Linked DNA regions of Homo sapiens: region 1 is linked to region 2. Evidence: promoter capture Hi-C in human tissues and cell types (Jung and others, 2019). All regions are on one chromosome and are shown on one strand. Each heading gives the region's core, a stretch centred on a gene start or on the middle of the fragment in contact. The rest is flanking DNA. Distances are from core to core; before and after follow the strand shown. Region 1 has its middle 53 kb from the start of GLS. Region 2 holds the start of ANKAR (ankyrin and armadillo repeat containing).

The links. Contacts are between HindIII fragments. The study calls those that stand out against the background at their distance.
Region 1: a fragment that was not itself captured here is called in contact with the fragment with the promoter of ANKAR in region 2 in 1 of the 25 tissues and cell types used here (lymphoblastoid cells).

What each region holds. Positions count from the first base shown.
Region 1 is chr2:190,826,219-190,829,248 of GRCh38, reverse strand. No RefSeq gene overlaps it. Among named protein-coding and RNA genes, the nearest start is that of GLS, 53 kb to the left of the region's middle. The HindIII fragment of the contact is 3,155 bases long and covers 120-3,030 here.
Region 2 is chr2:189,672,702-189,675,924 of GRCh38, reverse strand. It overlaps ANKAR (ankyrin and armadillo repeat containing), which reads right to left and starts at 1,255. Exons shown (of 23, transcript NM_001378068.1): 1 at 1,095-1,255. It overlaps LOC105373793 (a long non-coding RNA gene), which reads left to right and starts at 1,640. Exons shown (of 2, transcript XR_923692.3): 1 at 1,640-2,094; 2 at 2,532-2,805. RefSeq lists an enhancer at 870-1,129 and a silencer at 1,180-1,599. The HindIII fragment of the contact is 7,879 bases long and covers 1-3,223 here.

The DNA of each region.
Region 1 (3,030 bases), core at 448-2,947, 1.2 Mb before region 2:
AAACCTCTCTTTACCTTAGCCTGTCCCTCTTATGAGAAGGAACTGCTCGTGCTAGAAAGTCATATGGCAGGTTAGTGAAAAACTCTTTTAGCTTTAACATAGGTATCTGAGGGGCTAGGCCAGGGATAAATGGCTTAGAATCACCTATTCCCTTGTTATTCCTCTTTTGCTGATTATATGTGAACATAGTAAAAGCATCAGAGTAATACGGAGAAAGTGAACTAACAATTTGGAGCATTTAAATGTCTATATAACCATGTATCTTTGTAATTTTTAAATAAATGCAATCATCATATTCTATAAACTTTTTCAAATATAAAGATCTACTTTCTAATTTTTGAATGAGGATTCTGTTGTTGGATGTACCATAATTTATTTGACCAAATCCTTTTTAATGGAGTTAATGTTGCTCATCGTCACCTAATTATCAACTAAGCTCCTTGTACACAAACATCCTTGCACATACGTCTATTATTCCTTAGGATAAATTCTTAGAAGATTTGGTGAATCAATGTTGAATAGAGTTACAATTTTGATAAATACAAAAGAGAATGCTTTCCACAGAGTTTGTAGTAGCATGGAGGACAGGTTGGAGGGTCTGAGGCCCTCCCATCAGCTGTGAATAAGGATAATCATTTTCCCTTACCTTCACTAGACTGGATATTATCAATCTTTTTCATTTATGCCCATCTAAAAGCTTTAAAAATTATACTTCATATTTGAATTTAAATTTTTTAAAATTATAGTAAGCATTCCATATTTGTTCATGCTTCTGTATTTTGCCTATATATTAAATATATATATATATATGTATCTATAGGCCATTTAAGTTGTGGTATTCAGTTTTTATTTGATTTATAAAGGCTATTTATATATATAATACTAACATATATGTCAATATTTAATATATACATCTCTACCCTTAATTTTCTTGATGCAGATATGATCTCTTCAAGAAGGTCTCATTCCCTCTGAACGAATATTTAGATCATTCTCAATGACTTAATGGGAGTGCCCATGTATGCCAAAATTTCTGCTGGGATCCTTGCTGGGTTTGAAATGAAAATCATGGTGTTAGAAATTATAGATTGTGGTCTAATGGAAAGGTATTACTTGTTCAAAAGAAGCAGAGAATGAGATATAAGGTAATGGCAGAAACAATATAGAAGAACGGCACATGTGTATAGAAATTTATTAGTCTAATCCTGGAACTTTGGTGGAGAGTCCTTAGATGAGATTTTCAAAAGTAAAAAACCTTGCACAATCTGTAAAGACCTGCCTGGCTCCTAGCCTCTCTAATCCTCCCTTGGTCACAGCTAAGAGTCTTCAACATTTGCCTCTAGTAGTGGTTCTTTAAGTGGCTGTACACTGGAATCACCTGGGGAACTTTAAAAACTACCAATCCCTGAGCACCACTTCAGAAGTTCTGAAGTACTACTGTCCCTCGGTGTCTTCTGGGGATTGGTTCCAGGATGTACCTCCCCATACCCTGTGTGGATACCAAAATCCGAAGATACTCAATTTCCTTACATAAGATGGTATAGTATTTGCATATAATCAGCACACATCCTCCTGTACACTTTAAATCATCTGTAAATTACTTACAATGCCCAATATAATATAAATGCTATATAAAAATTATACCATACTATTTTAACTTGTATTATTTTTATTGTTGTATTGCTATTTTTTCCAAATATTTTAATCCAAAGTGGGTTGAATCTGTGGATACAGAACCAGTAGATACAAAGGGCTGACTGTAATTGGTTTGTGGTTGGGATTTTTTTAGAGCTCCACAGGTGATTCTAACATGCAGCCAGGGTTGCAAGCCACGGACAGAGGGACTAAGCACCAAGACTTTGGGAATAATTTAAACTTAGAATAGAGAGCTATAGTGACCTCTAATTCAGAGCACATTAATCTTGCTTGTTCTCACTTCAGAGTACTAGAATGACAGAAGACAGAGAGAGGAGAAGAAAAATTATTGGAAGAAATGTTAATCTATACGTCCAATAAACTCAACAAACTCCAATTAGGATAAATACAAAGAAATCCACACCTAGACACATTGTAATCAAAATATTAAAAGCCAAAGATAGAGAAACTCTGGAAAGCTTTATGAGAAAACAACTTATCACATGCAAGAGAATCCTAATAAGATAACCAGCTGACTTCCCATTATAAACAATGGAGGCCGGAGGCAAGGAATGACATATTTAAAGTGCTAAAAATAAAAAAATAAAAATTCAATCAAGAATCTTATATCCAGCATGCCTGTCTTTCAAAAATGAAGGCAAAATAAAGATACTCCCAGATAAACAAGTGAATTCATTGCTAGCAGGCTTGCCTTGTGAGAAAGCTAATTAGGTAATTATAATATACAATATAATTGCATATTTCTTCTTCTCTAAATGATTTAAAAATCAATAGTGTGAAACTTAGAAATAGAAACATAAAAATCCTCAATGAAATACCAGCAAATAAAATCCAGTGACATACAAGAAGGATTATACCCCATGACCAAGTGGGTTTTATTTCAGGAATGATTGGGTTAACATTTGAAATCAATTAATGTAATATACTATATCAACAGGATGAAAGACAAAAATCAAACAAGTATCTCAATAGATGCATAAAAAGCATTTGATAAAATCAACATTCTTTAATTATAAAAGCACTCAACAAATTAGGAATAAAAGGGAATTTTTTCAATCTGTTAAAAGGCATCTACAAAAACCCATAGCTCATCATATTAAAATTAGGAAAGATACAAGGGTGTCCACTCTTGCCACTTACATGACATTGTCCTGGAGGTTCTAGTCAAAGGAATTAGGCAAGAAAAAAAAAAAGACAACTGGATTGCAAAGGAAGAGGGGAAACAACCTCTATTTGCAGATCATTTGATCTTTTTTTTTTTTTTAAGATGGAGTCTCACTCTGTCGCCCAGGCTAGAGTGCAGTGGCGTGATCTCGGCTCACTGCAAGCTCCACCTCCCGGGTTCATGCCATTCTCCTGCTTCAGCCTCCCGAG
Region 2 (3,223 bases), core at 6-2,505:
GGAACAATAGAGAGAAAGGGGAGGTGTCTACTCTTAAACAACCAGATCTTTCATGAGCTCAGAGGTAGAGTTCACTCTGCCAGGAAAGCACCAAGCCATTCATGAGGGATCCACCCCCATAATCCAAACACCTCGCACCAAGCCCTACCTCCAACATTGGGGAATCTATTTTAACATGAGATTTGGAGGGGATAAATATCCAAATCATATGGATATTTATTTTGTTTTCAGTTTTTTAAAGCAAGACTATACTGACCTGCATGAAAGAAAAGAAAAGGGTGGGGCGCAGTGGCTCATGCGTGTAATCCCAGCACTTTGGGAGGCCAAGTCGGGCAGATCAACTGATGTCAGGAGTTCGAGAACAGCCTGACAAACATGGAGAAACTCCGTCTCTACTAAAAATACAAAATTAGCCAAACGTGGTCGTACATGCCTGTAATCTCAGCTACTCGCGGGGCTTGAGACAGGAGGCTGAACCCAGGAGGCGGAGGTTGCGGTGGCCTGGGCAACAAGTGTGAAAAACACTGTTTCAAAAAAAGAAAAAAAAAAGAAAAAGAAAAGGAAAGAAGCATTTGCTTAACCTTCAATTTCTGTGCCAATGAATGCCTGTCTATTCCTGAAATAATAATAACCACAACTACTATTTATTGAGCCAGGTTCTTTACTATATAATGGTTTGATTTATTTCATCTGATTGGTCTCTATTATATAGTGGTTCTCAAAATTTAGCTTGTATCAAAATCACCTGGGGCTTGTTCAAATACAAATCGCTGAATCCCACCACTGAGTTTCTGATTCAATGAGCTGTAGTGGGGCCAGAAAATATGCGTTTTAGTAAAGTTACAGGAAATGCTGATAGTGCTGGTTTGGGCGCCACACCTGAGACCCCAGGTCAGTGAGTCAGACCTTGTTATGCCCACTTTATAGAGGCAAAAACGGAGACCAGGAGGTTGCAGGACAAGTCTGAGGTTTTACGCCTTTCAGAAACAGAACCCACGTCTGTCCAGTCAAGCCCGGGACCCACGTCCAAAAGCAGCTCGCGTCAGCCATGGGCACGGGAAAGGGGAAAAAACAAGGAAAGGGGAGGAACCTACTCTAGAATGGCTGTTTTCTTGTCCGGGAGAGGGACGCTGCGTCCGCGGCGTTCCCGTGGGGCTGAGAACAGTCGTCGCCGCCTCAGATGGCTTCTCGCGGGGCCTTGAATCCGCCCTCAGGGCCTCCGCAAGGGCGAGCGGGAGGCGCACCGGAAGGAACTGAGAGGAACTTTCAGGGCTTTTCGCCCCACCGTGGCGGCCCGGCCCTCCTCGCCTCGCCGGCCAACACTGCCGCCGCCCGGGCGCGGGTCGAAGCGGTTGGTCCTCCGGGCCCTGGGGTGGCTGGGCTGCTCCTCGGGCGGAGCCTGCGGGCGACTAGGCCTGGTGCGTCCCGCAGCAGCCGCAGCGCCCCCAGGCGGCGCCCGGCCCCTTGGCTGGCTCAGACCCCCCGCGTGCGCATCATCCCAAGCCCGCTTAGCGCTTAGTCCAGCGGCATGCCGTGGGCACTGTGCCGCCCTCACTATCTGCCTCTGCTAAAACACCGAAACAGAGTAGCAGAGGAGACAGCGCCGGGCGTTGAGGCAGTCCCGAGTTGGAATACCACCTCCATCATCATTCTTTCATTCAACAAGCATTTATGGAACACCTATTATGAGTCAGGCACCCAGCTACAAGCTGGAAACCCTAGAAAACAGGGCAGACACGAAACCCCAAGGAGCTTACAGTTGAACAGATCATCTCACAGCTATATTTAACAGTGTGCCAATATTAGATGGAATGACAGCACTCGAATGAAAGCTAACCTAGCCCAGGGCTAGGAAAGGCTGCCTAAGGAAGTGCCCTTTTCCCCTCCGAGCCTAGAAGATGGAAAAGAGCTACCCAAGCAAAGGACTGGACAAGTAGCTTTTCAGGAACAGGGAACAGCAGGAGAGAAAGAATTGAAGTGAGAACAAAGTTGAAATGGTTGAGAAACCGCAAAACCCTGCTTAGAGAACAAGAGAGATGTGGGCACAAACCGAGCTGCTGAGGTGCGCGATGGACAGATCATGCAGGCTGCTGAGTAATGATTTTGAATTTCATCCCAAAGGATTAGCCTACAGTAGTGGCAGTGGAGGTGGGGCTCAGGGACTGTGGACAGATTTGAAAAATAATGAGGTTGCCTGTTGGTGACAGATTGGGGATATGTTGAAAAAGAAGGTTGTGTCCAAGTCAGAACCACATTTCTGTCAGGAGCAACAGGATATCAGGGCAAGATTAAGAGTTCAGTTATGTACTAATTGACCTTGAAGTACCTGTGAGAGAAATTGAGATGTGAGATATGCTTTAGATAAACAGTTCTGGGCTAAGAATGGCAGTAGGGGTTAGATGTATAAATTTTGGCAGATTTATAGTAATTGAAGCCAGGAGTGGGGTTGAAATCACCAAGGGAGAGCGTGCAGAATGAGGAGTTGAGAACCAAGGATTAGAGACCTGAGAAATTTAACATTTAAACGTCAGGTAGAGAGAGTGAAGTCAGCAAAGAAGACAAAAAGAACAGCCAAGAAGGCAGGAGGAAAACCAAAATTGGTCACAGAAGCCAAAGAAGTGTGTGGAAAAAAAAAAAGGAATGGCCAACTTTATCGGATGCTGCTGCTCGGTCAGGGGAGATGAGAACAAACTTCCACTGAATGCAGCAGCTTGGAAGTTCTTGGTGACTGTTTGGGGCAGAATTTCTCTTCCAGTAACCATGTCATTATTTTAGCTACTATGGAAATAAATATTAATAAATTTATGAGGACTATTCCAGGGCTTTTTTTTTTACAAAGATTTGCATGTTTGCACTTAAGAAATATGAACCATATATGTACATTCTCCTACTTCAAGGATTGTTTCCCCCTGGGTAGCCAAATGGTTTGTTCCATGTGTCTCAAATCTTCGGAAAGAGATGCCTCATTTTTTAAAGGATCAACACAGAACTCCATCCCAGAGCTAATGGGATTGAATAGCAGAAGGTTGTAAATGCCCAGGCCCTCTTGGGGTTCACACACATGCATGTGTATCCTCTCTCTGTCTCTCTCAGTATTCTGGTGGAGCAGATGACCTGGAAATTCCTTATAAAAGTTTGACTGATTAATACATTTAAATCTCATAGAGTAGAGTAGCACCTGGAATATAGCATTATGTAAGTTATAGCTATTTTCAGTATTAAA